Regions from separate parts of the Homo sapiens genome. Here regions 1, 2, 3, 5 and 6 are each linked to region 4. Evidence: promoter capture Hi-C in human tissues and cell types (Jung and others, 2019). All regions are on one chromosome and are shown on one strand. The core of a region is centred on a gene start or on the middle of the fragment in contact, and the rest is flanking DNA. Distances in the headings are between cores, read along the strand shown. Region 1 overlaps PPP3CB (protein phosphatase 3 catalytic subunit beta). Region 2 overlaps CFAP70 (cilia and flagella associated protein 70). Region 3 overlaps AP3M1 (adaptor related protein complex 3 subunit mu 1). Region 4 holds the start of SEC24C (SEC24 homolog C, COPII component). Region 5 has its middle 4.3 kb from the start of ANXA7. Region 6 has its middle 13 kb from the start of CFAP70.

What was found. Contacts are between HindIII fragments. The study calls those that stand out against the background at their distance.
Region 1: a fragment that was not itself captured here is called in contact with the fragment with the promoter of SEC24C in region 4 in 1 of the 25 tissues and cell types used here (dorsolateral prefrontal cortex).
Region 2: a contact is called between a fragment that was not itself captured here and the fragment with the promoter of SEC24C in region 4, in 1 of the 25 tissues and cell types used here (H1 embryonic stem cells).
Region 3: a fragment that was not itself captured here is called in contact with the fragment with the promoter of SEC24C in region 4 in 1 of the 25 tissues and cell types used here (aorta).
Region 5: a contact is called between a fragment that was not itself captured here and the fragment with the promoter of SEC24C in region 4, in 1 of the 25 tissues and cell types used here (pancreas).
Region 6: a contact is called between a fragment that was not itself captured here and the fragment with the promoter of SEC24C in region 4, in 1 of the 25 tissues and cell types used here (pancreas).

The regions. Positions count from the first base shown.
Region 1 is chr10:73,469,814-73,474,673 of GRCh38, forward strand. It overlaps PPP3CB (protein phosphatase 3 catalytic subunit beta), which reads right to left. Exons shown (of 14, transcript NM_021132.4): 5 at 1,655-1,800; 6 at 1,257-1,396; 7 at 1,074-1,151; 8 at 874-968. Among named protein-coding and RNA genes, the nearest start is that of PPP3CB-AS1, 24 kb to the right of the region's middle. The HindIII fragment of the contact is 5,523 bases long and covers 410-4,860 here.
Region 2 is chr10:73,269,465-73,273,726 of GRCh38, forward strand. CFAP70 (cilia and flagella associated protein 70) reads right to left here. Exons shown (of 28, transcript NM_001367801.1): 25 at 3,464-3,553; 26 at 150-251. It overlaps DNAJC9-AS1 (DNAJC9 and MRPS16 antisense RNA 1), which reads left to right. Exons shown (of 4, transcript NR_038373.1): 3 at 3,349-3,494. Among named protein-coding and RNA genes, the nearest start is that of MRPS16, 19 kb to the left of the region's middle. The HindIII fragment of the contact is 3,792 bases long and covers 1-3,323 here.
Region 3 is chr10:74,140,503-74,145,050 of GRCh38, forward strand. All of the region lies in intron 1 of AP3M1 (adaptor related protein complex 3 subunit mu 1), which reads right to left. Among named protein-coding and RNA genes, the nearest start is that of AP3M1, 8.1 kb to the right of the region's middle. The HindIII fragment of the contact is 7,040 bases long and covers 1-4,548 here.
Region 4 is chr10:73,742,203-73,746,849 of GRCh38, forward strand. It overlaps SEC24C (SEC24 homolog C, COPII component), which reads left to right and starts at 2,170. Exons shown (of 23, transcript NM_198597.3): 1 at 2,170-2,235; 2 at 4,603-4,647. The coding sequence starts at 4,631. LOC124902453 (a long non-coding RNA gene) reads right to left here and starts at 2,063. Exons shown (of 2, transcript XR_007062195.1): 1 at 2,015-2,063; 2 at 762-1,009. RefSeq lists enhancers at 1,512-2,711, 1,551-2,118, 1,789-2,218, 2,119-2,685. The HindIII fragment of the contact is 12,749 bases long and covers 1-4,647 here.
Region 5 is chr10:73,416,031-73,420,710 of GRCh38, forward strand. No RefSeq gene overlaps it. Among named protein-coding and RNA genes, the nearest start is that of ANXA7, 4.3 kb to the left of the region's middle. The HindIII fragment of the contact is 5,847 bases long and covers 1-4,680 here.
Region 6 is chr10:73,369,345-73,373,873 of GRCh38, forward strand. No RefSeq gene overlaps it. Among named protein-coding and RNA genes, the nearest start is that of CFAP70, 13 kb to the left of the region's middle. The HindIII fragment of the contact is 7,434 bases long and covers 1-4,529 here.

The DNA of each region.
Region 1 (4,860 bases), core at 1,921-4,420, 270 kb before region 4:
TAACCTTCTGTTCTTTCCTCTTGGCACATCCACTCCAGTCTGATCCTGAAGCTATGGCATAGTCAACTGAATTCCAGACATGTCAAGACAGAAGAGAAGCTGGCCTCTTAATATCATCTTCCAAAGATGTAAACTACATAAACATACCCAATCTCATCTTCAATGTCCTTGGCACACACTTAACTAGATTAAGACCCTTTGGCACTTTCTGTCAATAAACTGTATTCAAAATAAAATGAAATCCAATTACTATAGACAGGTCAAATTTTCAGGGAAGGTGGGGAAATGAAAATCTCTGGAACGGAAGGCAAAGGAAAAAAGCAGTAAAAATAAAGAGAAGAATGTATCCCTCAAATGAGATGAAACTGAATTAATTAAAAAAAAGCTCAAATACAAATCTTCATGGGGCAGTGATAAGACTGTGGAGGTAAAAGAAGGAAATAAGAAAGGGAAAGAGAACCTAGATCAGTGAACATAAAACAAGAAACATGATAAACTAAACAAGTAGACAGTGCAAATAAAATCATCAAAGCAGCAGCAGCTTTATACAAATAAGAAAACATCCTCAATAAGGGAAAAGATTTAAGAAAGGGGAGTTTGAGAAAATCATGTTTGGTTTTGCTTGATGCACTTAACTCAGAGCACGTTTTACAAAATGGCTTTTCCAAGAGACAAGTTGTGGAATGGGGTTACATATTACTTAGTTTCACATTTTGGATTTTTATTTATTGTTCTCTCCCCTCCATCTTACAGTTATTTATAAAGAAATCTGGATACTAATAGTTTCAAACAACACCCCTTTTTTATTATATTAAAAAAAGTCAATTAAAATACTAAGTTGTTTAACAATTTTTTTTATCAACAATATCTTACCTTTATTATTGTAGACATCTAAGTAATTAGGTGCCGAAAAAATTGTTATTAATGAAGGGAACCCTGTAGTTTGACTTTTTCTGTACATTCTATAGCTGCAAAACAAATAGCTTAATATGCATCGTAAAGCATCAATCATGGTTACTAAGTTTGATTTATATTTTAGGTGTTAATTTGGGTCAGGGAAACAGAATTCTTACCCTGCATCTTGAGCTTCATGAGCTCTAATAATCGATAACAAATTATTGTTTTGCAAAAATTCACACACTGCTGGATAGCTGTGGGGGAAAAAGAGTAAATTAAGTAAAATAATGGCTTTTCTGTATGAAGCATATGCTATGTTAACAACTAAAATGTGATTAATCTTGGATATTTTTCCTTACTTATAAAAATAAGAACATCCTCGAACTGTATTGTGACTAAAATGTTCCTGTGATTTTTCATTTCCAAAATCTTCAGAAGGATCGGACCATAACAAGTCACACATTGGTCCAAATGCAGGTGGCTCTTTGAATCTATCTAACTGTGAAAGAAAGAAAAGAAAGAACAGAAGTAACTCATCAAAAAGTAAGGATAAAATGTGCATAGGAAAACGATACCAACTTTGAATACAGTTCATACTATATTATTGTGAATAAACAGAAGTTATTTCCTTAAGATATCAGTATACTAATTTTTACTATTACCTAATCTTGGCAGTGAAGTGAAGTTTGAAACTTCTGCTCTACTCAACAATGTACTATAAATAGAAATCAATCTCGGAAGTAAAATATATACTTACTCTCCTAATATCATCCAGTGTGTGTATTTCTGGTGAAAGTCCACCATGAACACAAAGAAACTGTTGGTTTAAAAGTGCAGCAAGAGGCAAACTATCAAAAGCTTCCATACAAGCTTCATAGACTCTTTCCGAATACTTAATTTTACCTAGAAAAACAAAAAACTAATTGAAAATTACATTACTGGTGGTGGTGTGACCATTTTAAAAACATATATATTAGATTTTTATTTCTTGTTCTCTCCCCTCCTTTATATCTTATAGCTATTTATAATGAAATTGAGATAGTTACAGTTTCAACTGTAGTAATAGCCCAGACAGACAGACAGACAGATGGCAAGAAAATTATAGACAGTAAACAGCAAAGTGGTGGCCAGGGCTTCAGAGTGAGTGAAGGGGTGACTATAAAAAGGTAGCAAGAGAGAACTTATGGCATGATAAAACTTTTCTGTATCATGATAGTGGTAGTGGGCAACTCTATGCAGTGTCAAAAGTCACAGAAGTAAATACCACAGAGAATAAATCTTACTGCACACAATTTTTTTAAGGAAAGCATCTTCCCCTATAAGAATCAACAAAAATATGCAAAGTTATCTGTCTTATGAAGACAAAATATTTGCTCTCTCTAAAATTATTCTCGATGATGTTATGTCTTATGAAGCAAAATATTTGCTCTCTAAAATTATTTTGGATGACAGAAAAGTCATCACGTATTGTTAAAAATAAGTCAGTCAAATCTCTAAAAACAGGCCAGGCACGGTGGCTCACGCCTGTAATCCCAGCACTTTGACAGGCCAAAGCAGGCAGATCGCTTGAGGCCAGGAGTTTGAGACCAGTCTGGCCAACATGGCAGAACACTGTCTCTACTAAAAATACAAAAATTAGCCAGGCATGCTGGTGTGCACCTGTAATCCCAGAGACTCAATGGGTGAGGAACAAGAATCACTTGAACCCAGGAGGTGGAGGCTGCAGTGGGCCGAGATCGTGCCACTTGCACTCCAGCCTGGGCGACAGAGCAAGACTCTGTCTCAAAAAAAAAAAAAAAAGAAAGAAATCTCTTAAAAACAGCTCAACCCTTCACCTTTATCGGCCAAATAAGGCAAAATTAGAACTGTACTTGAGGTTAAAATCATTTTAATACTTGCTTTATTTTATTCTAAGAGTCAATGACTACTTTATTCTTATTACAGGCAAGATGACTACATCATCACAACAAAATTCAAGGTTCATCCATTTTTTCTGAAAAATAAAAGATAATAGCATGCTCATGTCAGAAAAGCTGAGGGGTTCCTCTTGCCTACAATGAATACTTTAAAATGGGCAGTGAAGCAGGAAGCCAATATAGAAACACAAGAAAGACAAAACTCTACCAAATCAAACTATCATTTACTTTTAGAGAGATATCATGCACTTTCATTTGCTCCTTTACAACTTTAAATTCCTATTTTGGTTTTGATGAGATTTTGGTAGGTGGTTTGTTATTTATCTAGGCAAAGAAAAAGAACTTAGTTCCTATTTCCTGTTTTAATACTGTAATATTCAAATATTAAAAAAACTATATATATATCCAGCAACCAGAGATTCTACACTGGCAGTCTGCTAACGACTCTGTTTTCTAGCACTGTGGTTTAATAAAAATTCTAATTTGACTGCTTTTAGGTCAAGCATGCACTTTCCAGGTCTTATCTTACTCATTTAGGTTAACTGCCTGATCCTTGAAGTTATAAGAGTATGCCACTTCTGCCACTACCCATCACTGTATTTTTCTCCTGTTGCTGCAAGTCTCTACTTAGTATGACCTTTATTGGATCATGTTTTGAGTCTCAAAACGTTGAAATTATTTCTGCTTTTAGAATTTAACTCTACTTAATACAGTCATAAATATTAACTTAAAAAGCACAAAGGCAGGCCAGATGCGGTGGTTCACACCTGTAATCCCAGCACTTTGGGAGGACGAGGCAGGTGGATTACTTGAGGTCAGGAGTTAAGAGACCAGCCTGGCCAACATGGTGAAACACCGCCTCTACCAAAAATACAAAAATTAGCAGGACGTGGTGGCGCATGCCTGTAATTTCAGCTACTTGGGAGGCTAAGGCAGGAGAATACTTGAACCCGGGAGGAGGTTGCTGTGAGCCGAGATTGTACCACTGCACTCCAGCCAGGGCGACAGAGCGAGACTGTCTCAAAAAAAAAATAAAAATAACAAAAATAATAAAAAAGCACAAAGGTTTGAGGTGTGAAAAAGGCCTAATCTTGTTCTGTAACATATGGTTACTTACAGGTATTAGATTACCATTGCTATAATAATTTGAGAGAGAAAAGGGATAAACATTGCAGGTTAAGAATTTCACCAACTGTACCTGACTAGTCTTAAAACAATGATATTTAAAAAAACAAAAAAATTTTAAGAAGAATTTCAATCATTAATAGCATGATTGAAATGATCTGCAATGGTAACAGGATAAACAATTTGTTAGGATTCCTCACAGGAATGCCTCAAGATTGAAGGACAAAAATCTCCAATGCAAAATAACATTTTTTTCTTTTGGTTTTTATTTTTTCCTGTTAGAAAAAATATATACATTTTTTTTTCCTGAGACAGAGTTTCGCTCTTGTTGCCCAGGCTGGAGTACAATGGCGCGATCTCGGCTCACTGCAACCTCCGCCTCCCAGGTTCAAGTGATTCTCCTGCCTCAGCCTCCTGAGTACCTGGGATTACAGGCACATGTCACCACGCCTGGCTAATTTTTGTATTTTTAGGAGATGGGGTTTTGCCGTGTTGGCCAGGCTGGTCTTGAACTCCTGACCTCAGGTGATCCACCCGCCTCGGCCTCCCAAAGTGCTGGGATTACAAGCGTGAGCTACCGTGCCTGGCTTAGAAAAATTAATTGTAACATTAAAACTTATATATAAAACTCTAAGTATGTTTGTAAAAGTTAAACATAATAAGAAATTCTGAAATGAAAAAAAATTTTTTTTTTTGAGACAGGGTCTGACTCTATTGCCCAGGCAATTGTCCGTGCAGTGGCATGATCTCAGCTCACTATGACCTCCGATTCCCAGGCTCAAGCGATCCTCCCACCTCAGCCTCCTGAGCAGCTGGGACTACAAGAGTGTGCCGCCACACCCAGCTAATTTTTTTTTTTTGTATTTTTGGTGGAGATGGGGTTTCACCATGTTGGCCAGGCTGGTCTCCAACTCCTGAGCTC
Region 2 (4,262 bases), core at 178-2,677, 470 kb before region 4:
CCCTTCCTTTGTCATCAGCATAATGATTACACCTAGAGCTTATCAGATTTCAGCTACCATGCATTAATGGCCATCTGCTGCCCCTTGCTTACTTGACCCCTCACCTCTGTGCCCTAAAAGGGCATTGTGTAAGGATAATAAACACTCACTTTCAGGCAGACCAGAGCCAGATATGCCCATACTTCAGCATTGTAGTTGTTCAATGCATTGGCTTCAGAAAGAGCATCCTCAGCCTCTGTGAGCTCCTCCAGCTTGACAGAAAAATGAGACATGTGAGTTAGCTTAGCTGAAACCACTATGTCCCAATAATACTGGTGTATATGACCTATACCAATGGTTTTCAACTTTTTAATATTTTTAGCATCAGAACTCTTTTCTTCAAAGGAAATCTTATGTGGTGGTTCAATATATGAACCAATTAAAAGTAGAAGAGCTCTGATTAAAAAGCCAGGTCGGGGATTCTGAAGCCCTGCCTAGTAAGCTCTTAACTTATACCCCTTTCTTCCTTCCCTCTACAGCGGTCCCATCAGGACATCTATAAACCATGGAGTTTCAGGTGCAAGGTTGGAAATCCACAGGAACTCACTCTCATGTGTGCATCATTCAGTGATTTCTCCACACACAGTGGGCTGTCAGATACATTTATAGTTTTTTTTCTTTACATTGTGCATCCTTTTCTTGAGGTAAAAATCTGATTTGCCTGTTGAAATACTATTGTCCAGAAAGCTTTCTTTCCCCTAGTATCAGTTATTAACAGCCCAATCCCGAGCAATCAATGCAGTATTCAGAAACTCTAGGGTGCACTCTGGGCTCTGGGCACGTGGAAATTGTTGCTGCTTCCTAAAACTGTGAGTTTGCTTTGTTGCTTTGTAAAACATTCCAAAAGGCTCTCCCTTCCCCAGTAAAGTAGCTCTTTTTTTCCTTTCTTTTTTCTTTTCTTTTCTCTTTTCTTTCCTCTCCTCTCCTCTCTCCTCTCCCCTCCCCTCCCCAGCCACCCTTTTCTTTTCTCTTTTCTTTTCCTTTTCTTTTCCTTCCCTTCCCTTCCCCTCCCCTCCCCTCCCCCTCCCCTCCCCTCCCCTTCCCTTCTCTTCGACAGAGTCTCGCTGTACTGCCCAGGCTGGAGTGCAATGGCATGATTTCAGCTCACTGCAACCTCCGCCTCCCAGGTTTAATCGATTCTCTTGCCTCAGCCTCCCAAGTAGCTAGAATTACAGGTGCCCACCACCACACCCAGCTAATTTTTGTATTTTTAGTACAGACGGGGTTTCACCACATTGGCCAGACTGGTCTCAAACTCCTGGCCTCAAGTGATCTGCCCACCTTGGCCTCCCAAAGTGCTGGGATTACAGGCATGAACCACCTGTGTCCAGCCTACTTTTTCTGCTTTAAAATAATTAAATAATGGGTTTCTAGGCCAAAGACAAGAGATGGCCTTTCACCCACACCCATACTTTGGCCCACACTTTGAAGTCTCTGAGACATTGATTCATTATTTAATCAACCTACATTTGCCAAGGATTTGCTCTGTGTCAGGCAGTATGCTAGATGCTGGGAGTAAAAAAATAAAATCCCGTAGTCCCAGGTACTCAGGAGGCTGACGCAGGAGGATCAACCGAGCCCCGGAGGCAGGGATTGCAATGAGCTGAGATTGAGCCACTGTACACCAGCCTGGGTGACAGAGCAAGATCCTGTCTCAAGTAAATAAATAAAATACAATATCTGCCCTCAAAGGGCTCACTGACAGATGTGTGAAAAACAAAACACAGGCCGGGTGCGGTGGCTCACGCCTGTAATCCCAGCACTTTGGGAGGCCGAGGTGGGAGGATCACCTGAGGACAGGAGTTTGAGACCAGCCTGGCCAACATGGCGAAATCCTGTGACTACTAAAAACACAAAAATTAGCTGGGTGTGGTGGCACATGCCTGTAATCCCAGCTATTCAGGAGGCTGAGGCAGGAGAATCACTTGAACCCAGGAGGCAGAGGTTGCAGTGAGCCAAGATGGCGCCACTGCACTCCAGCTTGGGTGACAGAGCTATAAGAAGATACCAATACTATACTGTTAAGTCGAAAAAAGGTTACAAAGCAGTAAATATTTACATTTTATACATTAAAATTGCTTTCATATATATGAAAAAAGACGGGAGGAAAGTACATTCAAATGTTAACAGTGGTTATCACCAACTTGTGGAGTTACGGATACTTTAATGTTTTCTTCATATTTTGTATCTATTTGTCTATTTATTTTTAGAGGTGAGGTTTTGCTCTGTCACCCAGCCTGGAGTGCAGTGGCACAATCATGGCTCACTGCAGCCTCTAACTTCTGTGTTCCCACCAAGCAATCCTCCCACCTTAGCCTTCCAAGTATCTGGGACTACAGGCACATGCCACCATGCCTGGTTAATTTTTAATGTTTTTGTAGAGATGGGGGTCTTGCTCTGTTGCCCAGGTTGGTTTCTCTCAAACTCCTAGGTTCAAGAGATCCTTCAGCCTCAGCCTCCCAAAGTGCTGGAATTACAGGTGTGAGCCACTGCTCCTGGCTTCTTCTAAAGTTTCTATAATGAACACATATTATCTTTATGGCTGAAAAACAGCAATGAGGGGCTAAGTGAGGTGGCTCACACCTGTAATCCCTGCACTTTGGGGTGGATCACTTGAGGTCAGGAGTTCAAAACCAGCCTGGTCAATATGGTGAAACCCCATCTCTACTAAAAATACAAAAATTAGCCTGGCATGGTGGTGGGCACCTGTAATCCCAGCTACTCAGGAGGCTGAGGCAGGAGGATCACTTGAACCCAGGAGGCAGAGGTTGCAGTGAGCTGAGGTGACACCACTGCACCACTGCACTCTAGCCTGGGAGACAGAGCGAGACTCCATCTCAAATAAATAAATAAATAAATAAATAAGTGAGTAAGCTATTCAAAGAAAGGGAGAGACATGGAGTCAATAATATGCCTGAAGAAATTAGGCAGGAACAAGAGGATGTTTGCCTCTTTGAAGACTGGAGGAAATGAGGGAAGGTTAAGTAAAGAGTTTTTAGGAGAAGCAGAGCAAAAGCTTCTGCCAGAAGTTACAGCAACTCCTCCTGCATATCAAAGGGTCACAGTGCTTAGTAAGTGTCAATCAATTTCTTTAATTGACTTGAATAGATTCTTCATCTCCCATATCACCTTTTTCTTACAGATAATATCACAAAGGAGTGTCTATACCAAATAACATGAATTTTTTTTATTATGTAGCTTCTTGGTTCAGGTTTTTCTGGGATTTTTTAAAAAGATCTTTTATTTTTCTAGCTAGTTAAGTGACCTTCAGTTCACTGAACACCTTTGAAGAACAACTTTTCATTACAGCAGACAGCCCTGATTGCTATTCCAATGTCATCACAAACCCCCAGGATGCTTGGAAGGCCAAGGAATCAAGGTCAGCTGTATCCACAGCCCTAGTCTCAAGCCTTCATCCTCTTACCCGATAGCAGGCGATTCCCAGTCCTAGCCAGGTAAGGCATGAAGGTGATCTCTTACAGGCTTGCATATAGGTTTTCTTTGCCTTTTCATACTGTAGAAAGAAAGCACCACTAAGCTACTGTTCTAGAAGCTTCAAACCCCATATTGCTGGGATGATCATGGGATCTCTGATAATTGCTCTCCAGAACAATCTAAGTTAAGCAAGTCCTTTAATTGTACTTTGACGTCTACCTTAAGGGAGTTATCGCAAGAAGATTGGTGAGAGGAGATGGATAGATCACATGAAAGAGCAGACTTTCACTTGGAAGTAGTTCCAAAGACATTTATAGTCTCTGTAAGAGTTGAGGCAAGGAGTTACACTGAAAGTGGGGGCAACCATCATGATTATCTGAATTCCACCTCCACTTCATGGATTACTCCCTTTCACTTAAATGCAACATCATGTGGTGGCATGACAAACATACAATCTCTGGACTAAAAGGTATACTTGATACAGCCTCATCATTTTACACCTTTGTTGTAAAAGATCTTAGAATTTTAGAAAAACTCAGAAGACAAACTTTCAAAGGACATAGCCCTGAAGGGACAATTTCTTGTCCTGTATCTCCAACATGAGATACATCTATAGCTGAGCCTCAGCAAACAGCCTAAGACCTGCTTGCCCGGGGTCTGCCTAAGTCAGCAGTGCTCTGAAGATGCAGCTTTCAATGACATCAGAAAGAAAACTTCTCCTTATATACTTCACTACAGTGGGATAGGGATTTCTCTCAAGCCTATGTGAGCTTTCCACTTAACATCAT
Region 3 (4,548 bases), core at 1,614-4,113, 400 kb after region 4:
TGAAATGCTTCATCTACAGTCTGATTTACTATGAAACAAGAATTGGGGGGATGCTTACAAAAATATGTAGAATTAAAAAGATTGAAAAAATATATATATTTGAATTAAAAAAAAAAAGGAACAACGAAGATGGATAACTCGTGCTTCCTGATTTCAAAACTTACTACAAAACTACTATGTGGTATTGGCACAAGGACAGACCTACAGATCAATAGAACATTAACCCTTACATTTATGGTCAACTGATTTTCAACAAGGGTGCCAAGACCTGGGTGACCAGTTGGAGAGAGAACAACCTTTTCAACAAATGGTACTGGAACAACTGGATTTCCACATACAAAAGAATGAAATTGGATACAAAAAGCAACACAAAATGTATCAAAGACCTAATTGGAAAAGCCAAAATGATAAAACTCTTAGAAAAAATATGCATAGATTTTGACTCTGGATTAGACAATGTTTTTTAAGATACGATACCAAAAGTACAGACAAGAAAAATAAAAAATAGATAACCCAGAGTCCATCAAATTTAAAACTTAGTGCTTCAAAGGACATTATCAAGAAAGCAAAAATTCACAAAATGATAGTAAATATTTGAAACCATATATCTTAAAGGGACCCCTATCCGGAAAATATAAAGAACTTTTACTCAATAATAAGAAGGGCCAGGTGTGGTGACTCACAACTGTAATCCTAGCACTCTGGGAGGCTGAGGAGGGAGGATTGCTTGAGCCCAGGAGTTTGAGACCCCGTCTCTATAAAAAAATTTAAAAACTAGCCAGGCATAGTGGCTCATACCTGTAGTCCCTGCTACTTGGGAGGCTGAGGTGGGAGGATTGCCTGAGTCCAGGAGTTTGAGGCTGCAGTCAACTATGATCCCACCACTGCACCCTAGCCTGGGTGACAGAGGGAGACCTTGCCTCTAAAACATAAAAAATAAATAAATAAACAAGCCAATTAAAAAATGGGCAAAGGATTTGAAAAGACATTTACTCAAAGAATATATACATACAAACGAATCTTACAAATACGATGTTGAATAAATGAAGCCAGATGCAAAAGAATATACACAGTATGATTCCATTTATATGAAGTTGTAGAACAGGCAAAACTAATCTACGTTAAATCAAATGGTTTCCTTTATGGAGAGTGGAGGGCCATGGGGATGATCTCCTAGAGTGCTGGTAATGTTTTATTTCTTTTTTATTTTCCTTTTTTTTTTTTTTTTGAGATGGAGTCTTACACTGTCGCCCAGGCTGGAGTGCAATGGTGTTATCTCGGCTCACTGAAACCTCTGCCTCCCAAGTTCACGAGATTCTCCTGCCTCAGCCTCCCTAGTAGCTGGGATTACAGGCACACACCGCCACACCTGGCTAGTTTTTTTTTTTTTTTGTATTTTTAATAGAGACGAGGTTTCACTATGTTGGCCAGGCTGGTCTTGAACTCCTGACCTCGTGATCCGCCTGCCTCAGCCTCCCAAAGTGCTAGGATTACAGGAGTGAGACACCGCACCTGGCCAATGTTTTATTTCTTGACCTGCATGATGTTTACAAGCTGTGTTCCTTCTATGATAACTCATTAGGCTTTACATTGTGATTTGCATACTTTCTGAGTGTTAGTTATGCTTCCTATAAGAAGTTTATTGTCCCTGCAATATGGGGGACAATGGAAAAATGTCTAATTATCTTACCTTGTTCCTATCTTTTACGTGTATAAGCACCAGTATCAGGTGTTTAGTCTAGTGGCTCAATCATTCCAAGTAATAGTACTATAGTCTAAGAAGAAAGAATTTAAGACCTATGAATACAGTTTCTATGAATGAAGATAAATTCCAAAGAGGAAAGGAAGACTTTCCAGAATTGATTCATTTGATTCTGTTGACAGAAAACAACATCAACCCTTTCTTTTATGAAAGCGGCTGACATTTAAAGAATATGTGGTGATGATCTCCTCTTCCCATTCGACACATGTTCAGTAGTTATCAATAATACTAGTTACTAAGATATGTTTTAGTAATTATTGTATTAATAAAGTATGAATACTGTTAACAGTTTAGGGTTCCTGTTTAATTAGAACCAAAAAATTTCTTTGTTTAAAGCCCTCTGTTTAGCCAAGAAATCAACTTGAGTTATTAGCAATAAACTCTGACACCTCAGGGTTGGAACCTGCCAAATTTTTCTACTTTATCTAGTCAGATGCTTTGCTTAGTAGGCTTGCTTTGTGTCTTATATTTCTGTCTGGGTATTAATATAAGTGCCATTAGAATACTTAGACTTGCTATATAGAACCTGCTGATTTTAACTATAATCTTTAGCTGATAAACTTTTCATTTTCATTTTTTAAATGAAACAGGAATATCCAACCATAAGATCTGCAACTAAATTTTTATTATTACACCTTTTTCTTGGAAGAAAATCAGCATCTGAAATATATAATGTATGACTTCAAGTGGAGCACTGTAATCCACAAGCAGACTCAGATTTGGGCACTTCAGGTGAGTCACATATGGAACACAGCATTCTTTGCAAAAATTAATCTTTTGGCCCCATTCAATGTGGTTATTTTTGGCCAGGCACAGTGGCTCACGCCTGTAATCCCAGCACTTTGGGAGGCCAAGACTGGTGGATTACCTGAGGTCAGGAGTTCAAGGCCATCCTGGCCAGCATGGCAAAACCCTGTCTCTACTAAAAATACAAAAATTAGCCGGGCATGGTGGCGTGCGCCTGTAATCCCAGCTACTTGGGAACAAAGCTTGTTTGTTTGTTTGAGCAGAGTCTCCCACTGTCACCCAGGCTGGAGTGCAGTGGTGTGATCTCTGCTGACTGCAACCTCCGTCTCCCATGGGCAAGCAATTCTCGTGCCTCAGCCTCCTCAGTAGCTGGGATTACAGGTGTGCACCACCATGCCCAGCTAGTTTTTCTGTTTTTAGTAGAAATGGGGTTTCACCATGTTGGCCTCAAGTGATCCGCCTGCCTTCGCCTCCCAAAGTGAAGCTACTGTACTCAGTCCCCATTCAAAGTGTTTTATTCATTAAAGATAATGAATAATAAATGAATTAATACTATCTAAAATGTATTGAGTACTTATTATGGGCCAGACACTATGCTAGACACTTTATCTCATCTTATTTTCACAATGCTACACCATAAATACTACTATTATCCCCATTTTACAGATAAGACAATGTCATCTCAGAAAAGTTAGGTCAATTACCTAAGATCACGCAGTAAGCTAGGATTCAAACCTAAATCCAGCTGAATTCTGAGCTCCTGCTCTTATCTGCCTTGTAGAGACTAATTATTAGGAACACGTTCTAATACAGCACTGTCCAACAGGGCTTTCTGCAATGATGGAAATGTCCTTTATCTGTGCTAATATGGTAGCCACTACACCCATGGCTATTGAGCACTTGAAATGTGGCTAATGTACCCAATACTGAAGTTTTAATTTTTTTGAAATTTTAATTAATTTTTTTTTGAGACGGAGTCTTGCTCTGTCTCCCAGACAGGAGCGCAATGGCGTGATCTCTGCTCACTGCAAGCTCCGCCTCCCAGGTTCACACCATTCTCCTGCCTCAGCCTCCCGAGTAGCTGGGACTACAGGAGCCCGCCACCACGCCTGGCTAATTTTTTGTATTTTTAGTAGAGATGGGGTTTCACCATGTTAGCCAGGATGGTCTCGATCTCCGGACCTCATGATCCACCCGCCTCGGCCTCCCAAAGTGCTGGGATTACAGGCGTGAGCCACCATGCCCGGCTTTTTTATTTTTATTTTTTTTTTGAGATAGGGTCTCGCTCTGTTGCCCAGGCTGGAGTGCAGCTGCGTCATCTTGGCTCACTCCAACGCCCACCTCCAGAGCCCAAGCGATCCTCCCACTTCAGTCTCCTGAGTAGCTGGGCTTACAGGCGTGCATCACCACACACAGCTGAGTTTCAAATTTTTGTTTTGTAGAGACAAAGTCTGCCTATATTGCCCAGGCTGATCCTGGACTCCTGGGCTCAAGTGATCTTCCCACCTTGATCTCCCAAAGTTCTGGGATTACAGGTGTGAGCCACCAAGCCTAGCCTGAAGTTTTAATTTTAATTAATTTAAATTTAAATAACCATATATGGTTAGTAGTTAATATATTGAACAGTGCATGAATGTGCTGCTTTAGCTTATGATTTTTTTTTTTTTTTGAGACGGAGTCTTGCTCTATTGCCCAGGCTGGAGTGCAATGGCACGATTTCCTCTTACCACAACCTCCGCCTGCTGGGTTCAAGCGATTCTCCTGCCTCAGCCTCCCGAGTAGCTAGGATTACAGGCATGCGCCACCATGCCCAGCTAATTTTTTGTATTTTTAGTAGAGATGGGGTTTCACCATGTTGGCCAGGCTGGTCTCGAACTCCTGACCTCGTGATCCGCCCGCCTCAGCCTCCCAAAGTGCTGAGATTACAGGCATGAGCCACTGCACCCAGCCTAGCTTATGATTTAAGAGGAGGAGGTAAAAGACATTTCTTGTTTAGTTAGGAGGCAAAAGACATTCTAGTTGTTATGCTGAGGAAGTTT
Region 4 (4,647 bases), core at 920-3,419:
CCACCCTGGGCAACACAGGGAGACCTCACCTCTACAAAAAATTAGCCAGATGTGGGGGCACATACCTGTAGCCCTAGCTACTCAACTACCCAGCTACTCCTACTGAGGTAGGAGGACCACTTGAGCCCAGCCTGAGCAACATAGCAAAATCGTCTCTAAAACAAAACAGGCTGGGCGCAGTGGCTCACACCTGTAATCCCAGCACTTTGGGAGGCCAAGGGGGGCGGATCACAACGTCAGGAGATCAAGACCATCCTGGCCAATATAGTGAAACCCTGTCTATACCAAACATACAAAGATTAGCTGGGGTGGTGGCGCATGCCTGTAATCCCAGCTACTCGGGAGTCTGAGGCATAAGAATCGCTTGAAACCAGGAGGCGGAAGTTGCAGTGAGCCAAGATTGGGCCACTGCACTCCGGCCTGGAGACAGAGCAAGACTGTCACAAAACAAAACAGAGGACAAGAACAATCTGCTTGTTTAGTAAAGCATGCTCAATGCCTAATATATAGTTTCCAGCACAGCCTAAAGTGCAAATTTTTCAGTGAATAAACCACTCTGTGCCTCAGAATAACTGATATTTACTGTCAATAATATGAGAACAAACACTTTTGTTCACTGCTCTATTTCCAGACCCAAGAACATGGCTTGGCACACAATGTCAGCGCTCAGTGGGTTCACCCTGCCTGCTGCCTTGACAAAGCTGATTTATCAAGACCAGGGAATTGCAATGGAGAAAGAGTAATTCACGCAGAGCCAGCTGTGTGGGAGACCAGAGTTTTATTATTACACAAATTAGTCTCCCTGAGCATTTGAGGATCAGAGTTCTTAAAGATAATTTGGCGAGTAGGAGCTTGGGAAGCGGGGAGTGCTGATTGGTCAGGTTGAAGACGGAATCACAGGGAGTCAAAGTGAGGTTTTCTTGCTGTTTTCTGTTCCTGGGTGGAATGGCAGAACTGATTGAGCCAGGTTACTGGTCTAGGTAGTCAGCTGATCCAATGAGTGCAGGGTCTGCAAAACATCTCAAGCACTAATCTTAGGTTTTACAATAGTTATGTTATTCCTAAAAGCAATTTGGGGAGGTTCAGACTCTTGGAGCGAGAGGCTGCATGTCCCCTAAACTGTAATTTGTAATCTTGTAGCTAATTTGTTAGTCCTGTAAAGACAGACTGGTCCCCAGGCAAGAAGGGGGTCTTTTCGGGAAGGGGCTATTATCAATTTTGTTTCAAACCATAAACTGAATTCCTCCCCAAAGTTAGTTCCACCTACACCCAGGAATGAATAAGGACAGCTTAAAGGTTAGAAGCAAGATGGAGTCGGTTAAGTCTGATTTCTTCCACTATCATAATTTCCTCAGTTGTAATTTTGCAAAGGCAGTTTCAACAGCAGTGCTCGAAAAATTATGAAATCAACAAATAGTACTGAAAAGTTCAAATGAAGTCATATATGAAAAAGAAATCCTAGCACTGTTAGCTATAATTACTTAGCCATTAAATGGGGTACTAATAATTACTGCAGGAACTATCTTTTCCAACAGAGCGCAGAGATCTTTTGGCTCTGATAAAGCTCTGCACCTAAACAAAGGCGCTGTATAAAAATGGTTAATAACAATTGACCTTTACTGAGTGCTTACTATGATGCCAAGCGGCCTATGTGGCCTAATTTCATCCTCTGGGCATTATTATTTCCATTTTACAAGCTGTAGAGCCAGACCTCAGACCCCCACATGCAGGTTGACAACAGTTGGTGCCCTTTACCACCACCACACGTTCCGCAAATCTCATAACCAGCAAACGCCATGGGTGAGAGCAACCTAGCGGACGGAAATCAACGGGGTCAGGGGTCACCAGGAAGTGACTACAAGACTCTAGCTCAGAGGTCACTAATACGTCACAGGCAGAGTGAAGGGGCATTATTAAAGATAGTTTGACAAATTCTTTTTAATCTCATTTCTGTTGGTGAGGCCATAAAGTGACTGGAACATCTGAAAAAAAATGTCAGGAGGGAAATACATACGACTCAGCAGAGGCGCACAGGCGGCGGCCATGATGGGAAGATGAAAGAGGCGCATGCGCGGCATCCGGGTCCCCGAAATGCAGACGTGGCAGAAGAAGTGGCCCGGCCCTAAAGCGTGGAGGAGGAACTTCCGGGGGTGACGGGACGGCCCCCTCGGAACCGGAAGTGGAGCCTGGGAGCCTTGACGTTAGGAACGAAGTCTAACCTGGATCTGGAGCCGGGTGAGGAGTGGCATCGGGAGGTTGGCGGGTAGGAAAGCAAAGGAGAGGTCAGGGTATTACTGGCCAGATTGGGGTCCGGTTTCAGAAAGAAGGGAGGAGCCTGGGGGCGGGGCCTGGGTAGAGACCCTCACCTCACGCATCCACCATCCAGGAGCAGGTCCTAGACCATCCCTTCGTCTCCCGGCCCAGATTCCGGCTCCTGCTTCCTGCCCCGAGCCTGTTAAAAGGTGCAAGACGTTTGGTCTCTGTGCTTAACAGAGCAGCCCCCTCTCTTAACGTGGCCCTAGAAGCCGACTTGGCTTCTCGGTTTTGATCCTCGGCTCTCCGAGGCTCCATGGCTTGACTACTTTCAGAGTTCTAGGAAGCTTGCCCCGCCCCCTTGGGTTGTCACCCTCGACTATCCACCCAGAATGGAGTCGAGACTTCAGTCTGACTCCAAGCTCTTGAATGTGTTTGAGGGGATTATTTTCTGGAGAAGAAGCTCCTTTCTTTACCCCTCCCCCCGGCTTTGGAAACATAAAGGGAGAGGACATATTTTAAACTTAGTGTCAGTGACCTACCTCTGTAAGGTTTAGGGTTTGGAAGAACAGCTATTGAGATAACTTTGAGTTTAAAGAGTTTTAGACCAGGATCAGCTCCTTTTCTATAGTCAAGGTGGCCCTTCTAGCAAAGGGGGAGAGGTCCATTGTTCCCTTTGCAGCAACTCTGAGTGCTCCTGCTTTCTGGGCCCCTTCTGTCTACAGGATAATTGGAATGATACAGCTGTTGAAAGTAGATGTGATGAGATAGTTTTCTTGGAAGGACCCTGTTTAGAAAAGGCCCTCTAATTCATCCCTGTGTTGATGAGCAAGATTGTAATAATTTTGATGGTGGCTGAGATTCATAACAATCGTAAGGGGAGCAGAAACAGGAGAGTTGGAGAAGTGCATTGGAATTTAGAATATTCATAGTCTTCTGCTTGAGGGATGAGGTGAATGATTTTTTTCCATGAAATCTAACTCTAACTTTGCCCCTGATTCTTGAACTGTTTCCTCAGATTATGTGAAGAAGTTTTGGTGCCTGTTCTGCACTTGGTTTTAATCTGTTACCTTGCTAGAGTTTTCAGGTGTCCTTTATTTTTTATTTTTTTGAAAGGGCGTCTTGCTCTATTGCTCAGGCTGGAGTGCAGTGGCACGATCTCGGCTTATTGCAATCTCCGCCTCCCGGGTTCAAGCGATTTCTCCTGCCTCAGCCTCCCAAGTAGCTGGGATTACAGGCGTGTGCCACCATGCCCGGCTAGTTTTTGTATTTTTAGTAGAGACTGGGTTTCACCGTGTTGGCCAGGCTGGTCATGAACTCCTGACCTCAAGTGATCTGCCCGACTTGGCCTTCCAAAGTGCTGGGATTACAGGCATGAGCCACTGTGCCTGGCCAACTTTTATTGATTTTAATGCTTCGGTTTTGGCCGGGCGTGGTGGCTCACACCTGTGATCCCAGCACTTTGGGAGGCCAAGGTGGGTGGATCACGAGGTCAGGAGATCGAGACCAGCCTGGCTAACAGGGTGAAAACCTGTCTCTACTAAAAATACAAAAACTAGCTGGGTGTGGTGGCACGCGCCTGTAATCCCAGCTACTCGGGAGGCTGAGGCAGGAGAATCGTTTGAACCCAGGAGGTGAAGGTTGCAGTGAGCCGAGATCGCGCCACTGCACTCCAGCCTGGCAACAGAGTGAGACTCCGTCTCAAAAAAAAAAAAAAAAAAAAAAAACCTTCAGTTTTAAGGTCCATACACTCTTTTGGTGGAAAGACTTGGGTTGGAGTATCATTTGTATTATGGCAGTTTAGCTAAAGAATGTCATTTCTGTAACTCAGCCTAAATTTTGTCATTGAGGGGGAAGGATTTTAGCAGATCTGTTTTAGATTTTTAGCCTGATTGATTTTAAATCAATTGTTCAGCACACTAGAGGGTACTCGATGTTTGCTGAATGAATGGATGCTAGAGTGAATGAATGGAAAGTGGGAACATTGTTTCTTTCACCTGTAACATCAAGGTAGTTCATCAGCCACAAGACTGTGTGACTAGACACTAGAAATCATACCACTGGGGAATGGAGGCTGCTGCTCCATTTCAGTGGATCTGTCTGAAGTTGAAATTTATACTATTTAGACAGTGACAAAGGGTGGATGGTCAGAATAACAAAATCCTTGCTTTTAGGAGATAATCTGAATGCTGGCTGGGGCAGAAAATTACTAAGATCCTGTGGAAGTGTGAGGATTATTAAACTGATCACTGTCTGATAAGGTCAATTTCTTTTTATCTCTACTTCCTGCCCTGAATAGTTGCTCTCTTTAGAAAGTTCATTTTGACTAATTTCTCCTCTCTCTCACAGGTGAGATCAAATTGGGAATGCTTTCATAATGAACGTCAACCAGTC
Region 5 (4,680 bases), core at 1,630-4,129, 330 kb before region 4:
TGCTTCCCAGGTTCAACGAATTCTCCTGCCTCAGCCTCCCAAGTAGCTGGGATTACAGGCATCCGCCACCACGCCCAGCTTTTTTTTTTTTTTTTTTTTTTTTTTTTTTTGAGACAGAGTCTCACTCTGTTGCCCAGGCTGGATGGAATGCAGTGGCACGATCTCGGCTCACTGCAAGCTCTGCCTCCTGGGTTCACGCCATTCTCCTGCCTCAGCCTCCCGAGTAGCTGGGACTACAGGTGTCTACCACCACGCCTGGCTAATTTTTTGTATTTTTAGTAGAGACAGGGTTTCACTGTGTTAGCCAGGATGGTCTCGATCTCCTGACCTCATGACCCACCCGCCTCAGCCTCCCAAAGTGCTAGGATTACAGGCATGAGCCACCACGTCCGGCCTAAATTTTTATATTTTTAATACAGACGGTGATTTGCCATGTTGCCCAGGCGAACTCCTGACCTCAGGTGATCCACCCACCTCGGCCTCCCAAAGTGCTGGGATTATTACAGGTGTGAGCCACCACGCCTGGCCCAGAGTCTGGTATTTAAGTTCATATCCTTTTTGTTCCATTAGAATAGTAATTTTGTCCCTCAGGGACACCTGACAATGTGTGGAGACATCTTTGTTTGTCACAACTGAGGGGAGGTGGTGGGGTTACTAGCATCTAGTGGGTGAAAGCCAAGGATTCTAAACAAGGTACGTATCCTACAATGCCTACAGTCCCTACACAAAGAATTATTCAGCCCAAAAAGTCAATAGTGCTGAGGTTAAGAAACCCTGAGTCAGAGTGATCTTTCTAAAGAATAAATTGGGTCATGTAATTCCCGTGATTAAACTTTTTTAATAGCTTCCCACTGGAACCAGAATAAAATAAAATCCAAACTCCTGATGGTCTATTAAGCCCTAGATAATCTGGTCCCTGCCTACATCGCTCATCTAATCCCTTTTCACTTTTTTTTTTTTTTTTTTGAGACGGAGTCTTGCTCTGTCGCCCAGGCTGGAGTGCGGTGGTGCAATCTCAGCTCACTGCAAGCTTCGCCTCCCAGGTTCACACCATTCTCCTGGCTGAACCTCCCAAGTAGCTGGGACTAAAGGTGACTGCCACCACGCCCAGCTAATTTTTTTGTATTTTTAGTAGAGACGGGGTTTCACCATGTTAGCCAGGATGGTCTTGATCTCCTGACCTCGTGATCCACCTGCCTCGGCCTCCCAAAGTGCTGGGATTACAGGCGTGAGCCACGGCGCCTGGCCTTCACTTTCCTTAATCACTAACCTCTGAACACAGTGGCCTTCGGTCCAAACATACCAAGCTTGTGACCAAATGCACCAGATTCTCAGGACCTTGGCACTTGCTATTGCTTCTACTGGGAATGTTCTCCATGGTGTCATCTCAAATGTGGTCTCCTGGCTGGGTGAGTTGGCTCACACCTATAATCCTAGCACTTTGGGAGGCCCAAGGCAGGCAGATCACTGAAACCCAGGAGTTGGAGACCAGCCTGGGCAACATGGCGAGACCCCATCTCTACAAAAAACACAAAAATTAGTCAGGCATAGTAGTGTGCACTTGTAATCCATCTACTTAGGAGGCTCACAGGGGAGAATCACTTGAACCTGGGAGGCAGAGGCTGTAGTAAGCCAAGATCTCACTACTGCACTCCAGCCTGGGTGACAGAGCCTGACCCTATCTCAAAAAAACAAACAAAAAATGTCATCTCCTCAAGGTATTTCCTGAACATTAGTAGCTGCCACCAGCACAACCACCACTAGCAGCTATGCTCATTATTTAATTTTCCTTATACCACTTAAAAGCATCTGAAATTCTGGCCGGGCGCGGTGGCTCACGCCTGTAATCCCAGCACTTTGGGAGGCCGAGGCGGGCGGATCACGAGGTCAGGAGATCGAGACCATCCCGGCTAAAAACGGTGAAACCCCGTCTCTACTAAAAATACAAAAAATTAGCCGGGCGTAGTGGCGGGCGCCTGTAGTCCCAGCTACTTGGGAGGCTGAGGCAGGAGAATGGCGTGAACCCGGGAGGCGGAGCTTGCAATGAGCCGAGATCCCGCCACTGCACTCCAGCCTGGGCGACAGAGCGAGACTCCGTCTCAAAAAAAAAAAAAAAAAAAAAAAAAAAAAAAAAAAAAGCATCTGAAATTCTGTGTGTTTACTGTTTCTGTCCCCATCTAGAATGTAAGCTCCTTGAGAACAGGGATATCTTTAGAGCCTAGTAGTGAGTGTTTGATAAATAATTGATTGTCTGATTGACTACAATAGGGCCCCCAAAACCCAAGCCAACTACTTCGTCTGGTGATCAGCCAAATACAGATTTATTTCCAGCACTGGGAAAAACTGGCTCTGATAGACCTACTGAGAGAACCCATGTGCTACCCTAAAGGATTTTCAAAGGTAGTTTTGAAAATTTTTTTTCATTTCATATGCTGACTTTAGAAAACATAACTCCATTATATTGTCCTTGCTTATGTCAGTCTCCTATAAGGGCAGAAGCCATCTTAGAATCCTCAGCATTTGACAATAAGCTAGGCATTTGGACTTTTGTGTACTATCACCACCATTCTACTAAATTGGATGTTTTTGCGCCACCTGTTACTGTGTAGTTTCTAATTATATTCTGGCTGACAGATACATCACCCTTCATCCATCACAATCAGCAAACAAATCCTAGATTTTACTTTCATGTTCTACCTGCAAAATGTCACTATTTACTTTACTTGTAGTTAAAAATTACCTCTTGCTCTCCATACCTACTGATATAATCTTAGCTGACACCTACATTATCTCGTCTGAACCATGACAATAGTGTCCTAACTGGATTTTCCATTACCAAACCATCTTACACACTACTGCTAGTTCAATCTGTGTTACTGAGCAAAATTCAAAATGATATTTATCAAATAATAGCTACTAAGGACATACTATTTGCTAGGTACTGTGTTAAGGATTTAAATATCCTTATTTTTTACATTCTCTAAGATTAGAAAAATTTGGTAATAGCTTTATTGAAATATAATTCACCCATATAATGTGTACAATTCAATGATTTTTAGTACATTCAGAGTTGTGCATCTACCACCACAATCAATTTTAGAATGGTTATATCCCATATCCTTTACCCGTCGCCCCCAATACCCCCATCCTTCCCCTCCACATGTAGCCACTAATCTACTTTGTCTCCATAGACTTGCCTATTCTGAACATTTCATATAAATGCACTTGTACAATATGTAGTCTTTTGTAACTGGCTTTCATATTGTAACATGAATCAGTATTTCATTACTTTTATGGTCAAATACTATTTCCTTGTAAGGATTTACCACATTTTGCTTATCCATTCATAAGCTGATGGATATTTTGGTTGTTTTCATCTTTTGGCTGTCATGAATAATGCTGCTATGAATATTTATATACATATGATTTCATTTCTCATGGGTACAAACCTATGAGCAAAACTTCTGGGTCAAATGGTAAGTCAATTTTTAACTTTTTTTTTTTTTTTAAAGAGACAGGGTCTTGATTCGTTGCCCAGGCTGGTCTTAAACTCCTTGCTTTAAGCAGTACTCCTAGCTCAGCCTCCCAAAGTGCTGGGATTACAGGCGTGAGTCATCATTACCTGGCCCTCAATGTTTAACTGTTTGAGGAACTGCCAGACTGTTTTCCAAATTGGCTGCATCATTTTACATTCCCACCAGCAGTGTATGAAGGTTACAATTTCTTCACATCCTCATCAACATTTGTTACTACCTCTTTTTTTCATCATAGCCATCGTAGTGGGTATGAAGTGGTATCTCATTATAATTTTAATTTGTATACCTTAATGATTGATGATGTTGAGCATCTTTTCATGTACTTATTGGCCCTTTATACATCTTTTTTGGAGAAATGTCTGTTCAGATCCTTTGCCCATTTTTAATTGGGTTATCTGTCCTTTTAAGTTGTAGGTCCCTTATCAGATATATAATTTATTAATATTTTCTCTCATTCTTTTTTTTTTTTTTTGAGACAGGATCTCGCTCTGTCACCCAGGCTGGAGTGCGATCATGGCTCACTGCAGCCTCCTGGGCTCAAGCGATCTTTCCACCTCAGCCTCCCAGGTAGTGTGACTACAGGCATGCGCCACCATGCCCACTAATTTTTTTTTTTTTGTAGAGATAGGTCTATGTTGCTTAGGCTCATCTTGAACTTCTGGGCTTAAGCAGTCCTCCTGTCTTTGCCTCCTAAAATGTTGGGATTACAGGTGTGAGCCACCACACCTGGCCTAAAATTTTAAATTTTGATAGTCTAATTTATTTATTTTTATTTTGGTTGCTTGTGTTTTTGGTGTCATACCTAAGAAAACATTGCCAGATAAGTTCACAAAGATTTTCCCCTTTTTTTTCTTTGAAGAGTTTTAGTTTTGGGTATTTGAACCATTTTGAGTTAATCTATGTATATTGTGTGAGGTGGGGGTATAGCTTTATTCTTCTGCATCTGGATATCCAGTTGTCCCAGCACTATTTGTTGAAAAGTCTGTTCTTTTCCCAATTAATTGTTTATGTACCCTTGTGAAAAATCAATTGACCATAAATGTTAAGGTTTTTTTTTTCTTTTTTTTTTTTTGAGACAGATTCTCACTTTTCACCCAGGCTGAAGTGCAGTGGCACAATCTTGGCTCACTGCAGCCTCAACCTC
Region 6 (4,529 bases), core at 539-3,038, 370 kb before region 4:
AGGGGTATAGACAAAGAAGCAGGGGCCATTGTTGCATCTCCCCCAATTGTTGCAAGTCTCTCCCTCTCCAGGTGAAGTGACGTCCAGGGGACTGAAAGGTCTGGTACGTGTGTCTTTATCCCAACCCTTCATTTTTCTCTTTTTCTCCCTTTGGGGGGCAGACATTAAAGACAAGGACATTCAAAAGCAACTACATATATGGGGAAAATTAGAAAGTGGCCACCCACACCCAGAGAAAGGCACAGGCTCAAAAAGACCTGAGAAGACCTTAAGTTTATACCTCAGTATGGTCCTTGGCCCAGAGACAGCCTACAACAATTAAAAAACAAAAACAAAAAACAATAAACAAATACAGTAACAAAAAATAGCAAACCCTGGGGAAAGGGGAGAATCCAATTTCCAGAGTTACCACATTATCAAACCCAAATGTATAATTTTCAATGAAAAAAATCACAAGGCATACAAAGAAACAGGAAACTATCCCCAATCAAAAGCAAAAATAAACAGAAACTGTCTCTAAAAAAAGACCTGGTGACAGATCTATTACACAAAAAAATTTTAAAACCTGTCTTAAAGGCTGGGTGTGGTGGTTCATGCCTATAATTCCAGCACTTTGGGAGGCCAAGGCAAGAGGATCACTTGAGGCTGGGAGTTCAAGAGCAGCCTGGGTAACACAGTGAGACCCTGTCTCTTAGAGAAAAAAAAAAAAAAAAGAAGAAGAAGAATTAAAAAATAAGCCAGCCAGGTGCAGTGGCCTGTGTCTATAGTCCTAACTAGCTACTTGGGATGTTGAGGCAGAAGGCTCACTTTGAGCCCTGGAGTTTGAGGCTGCAGTGAGCTTGGATTGTGCCACTGCACTCCAGCCTGGGTGACAGAGCGAGACCCTTGTCTCAAAACACAAAAACAAAAAACTGTCTTAAAGATATAAGGCCAGGTGTGGTGGTGGCTCATGCCTGTAATCCCAACACTTTGGGAAGCCAAGGTGGGCAGATCACTTGAGCCCAGGAGTTTGAAACCAGCCTGGGCAACACAGTGAAACTCCATCTCTACTAAAAAATACAAAAAATTAGCTGGATGTGGTGGCACACACCTGTAGTCCCAGCTACTTGGAGTCTGACATGGGAGATCAACTGAGCCAGGTAAGTCGAGGCTGCAGTTAAGCTGTGATTGCGCCACTGCACTCTAGCCTGTGCGACAGGAGTGAGGCCCTGTCTCAAAAAAATAAAATAAAATAAAAGAGATGATCAAAAAACTAAAGGAAGATATGGAAAAAGCCAAGAAAATGATGTATAAAGAAAATGGAAATATCAATAAAGAGATAGAAAACCTAAAAAGAAACCAAACAAATTCTGGAGCTGAAAAATACAATAACTGAAATGCAAAAATTCACTAGCAGGATTCAAAGGCAGATTTAAACAAGCAAAAAAAAGAGTAAGTCAAATTGGAGACAGGACAATGGAAACTGAGTCTGAAAAACAGAAAGAAAAAAGATTGAGGAAAAGTGAACAGAGCCTAACGGACCTGTGAAACACCATCAAGTGGACCATCATACACATTGTGGGAATTCTAATGGGCAAGAAATAGGAAGAGAAAATATTTGAAGAAATAATGGCTTAAAAGCTTCCCAAGTTCTATGAGACATGAATATAAACACCCAAGCAGCTCAATGAACTCCAAGTAGATGAACTTAAAGAGAGCCACATTAAGACACATTTTAATCAATCGAAGTTTCTTTTTTTTTTTTTTTTAAGATGGAGTCTCGCTCTGTCACGCAGGCTGGAGTGCAGTGGCACGATCTCGGCTCACTGCAAGCTCTGTCTCCCGGGTTCATGCCATTCTCCTGCCTCAGCCTCCCGAGTAGCTGGGACTACAGGCGCCCACCACCACGCCCAGCTAATTTTTTGTATTTTCAGTCGAGACAGGGTTTCACAGTGTTAGCCAGGATGGTCTTGATCTCCTGACCTCGTGATCCGCCTGCCTCAGCCTCCCAAAGTGCTGGGATTACAGACGTGAGCCACCGTGCCCAGCCTTTAATCAAACTTTCTAAATCCAAAGAGAGAATCCTGAAATCAGCAAGAGAGAAGTGATTTGCCACATACAAGATATTTTTAATAAGATTATCAGCAGATTTCTCATCAGAAAGAATTGGATGATATAGTTAAAGTGCTAAAAAAAAAATTGTCGACCCAAGAATCCTATATCTGGCAAAACTGTCCTTAAAAAGTGAGGAAGAAATTTAGACATTCCTAGATAAAAGCTGGGAAAGTTCATTACCACTAGACCTGCCCTACAAGAAATGCTCAAAGAAGTCCTAGTCCTGCAGGATGAAATGAAAGGAGACTAGACAGTAACTTGAAGCCACATGAAGAAATAAAGATCTCAATAAAGGGTAAATACATGGGCAATTATAAAAGCTAATGTTATTGTAATAATAGTCTGTGACGATACTTTTGGTTTTCTACATGATTTGAGATGAACACATTAAAAAAAACTAAACACTAGCATAACTGTAATTTTGGTTTGTAACTCCAAATTTTGTATTCTACGTAATTTAAGAAACTAATGTATTTAAAAGAATTAGTTTATGTTTTGGGTCACACAATGTAAAAAGATGTAATTTTGTGACATCAACCAAAAGGGGTGAGGACACAGCTGTTAGAAGAGTTTGTATATGTCACTGAAGCTGGCATAAATTTAGTGTTATAACTTTAGGATGTTAAATGTTATCCCCATGGTAACCACAGAGAAAATAGCTATAGAATATACACAAAACAAAGGGAAATGAATTTAAATGTTTCACTACAAAACAACTAAACACAAAAGACAGTAATGCAGGAAATGAGGGACAAAAAAGCAGTAAGCCATATGGAGAACAAATAGCAATACAACAGAAGTTCTTATCAGTAATTACTTTAAATGTAAATAGATTACATTTTCTTTTTTTTAATTTTTATTTTTGAGATGGAGTCTCGCTCTGTAGCCCAGGCTGGATTGTAGTGGCATGATCTCAGCTCCCTACAACCTCCACCTCCTGGGTTCAAGCAATTCTCCTACCTCAGCCTCCCGAGTAGCTGGGATTATAGGCGCATGCCACCACACCCGGCTAATTTTTGTATTTTTTGTAGAGACGGGGTCTCACCATGTTGGCTAGGCTGGTCTTGAACTCCTGATCTCAAGTGATCCGCTGGCCTCAGCCTCCCAAAGTGCTGGAATTACAGGTGTGAGCTACCACGCCCAGCCAGGATTAAACGTTCTAATCAAAAGACAAAGACTGGGCTGGGCGCGGTGGCTCACGCCTGTAATCCCAGCACTTTGGGAGGCTGAGGCGGGTGGATCACGAGGGCAGGAGATCGAGACCATCCTGGCTAACACGGTGAAACCCCGTCTCTACTAAAAATACAAAAAATTAGCCAGGCGTGGTGGCGGGCACCTGTGGTCCCAGCTCTACTTCGGAGGCTGAGGCAGGAGAACGGCGTGAACACGGGAGGCGGAGCTTGCAGTGAGCCAAGATTGCACCACTGCACTCCAGCCTGGGCGACAGCGCGAGATCCATCTGAAAACAAAAACAAAAACAAAAACAAAAGACAAAGACTGGCAAAATGGATTTTTTTTTTTTTTGAGACGGAGTCTCACTCTGTCACCCAGGCTGGAGTGCAGTGGCACAATCTCAGCTCACTGCAAGTCCCACCTCCTGGGTTGACAGCATTCTCCTGCCTCAGCCTCCCCAGTAGCTGGGACCACAGGCACCTGCCACCACGCCCGGTTAATTTTTTTTTTTTTTGTATTTTTAGTAGAGATGGGGTTTCACCATCCACAGGATGGTCTCGATCTCCTGACCTTATGATCCACCCGCCTCGGCCTCCCAAAGTGCTGGGATTACAGACTGAGCCACCGTGCCCGGCCAGCAAAATGGATTTTTAAAAATCCTTGGGAGGCTGAGGTGGGCGGATCACAAGGTCAAGAGATCGAGACCATCCTGGCCAACATGGTAAAACCCCATCTCAACTAAAAATACAAAAAATTAAGTGGGTGTGGTGGCGCACACCTGTAGTCCCAGTTACTAGGGAGGCTGAGGCAGGAGAATCACTTGAACCCGGGAGGTGGAGGTTGCAGTGAGCCGAGATCACTCTACTGCACTCTAGCCTGGCAACAGAGTGAGACTCCATCTCAAAACAAACAAACAAACAAACAAAAATCCAACTTTATGCTGTCTACCAAACACTCACATTTGATCCAAAGACACAAACAGATTAAAAGTTAAAAGATGGAAAAAGATACTCCATGCAAACAGTAACCAAAAGAGAGCAGGGGAGGCTACAGTAATATCAGACGAGATAGACTTTAAATCAAAAAAGGTTATAGGGGCCGGGCATGGTGGCTCAGGCCTGTAATCCCAGCACTTTGGGAAGCTGAGGCGGGCAGATCACCTGAGGTCAGGAGTTCAAGACCAACCTGGCCAACATGGCAAAAACCTGTCTCTACTAAAAATACAAAAATTAGCCAGGCGTGCTGACTGGCGGACACCTGTA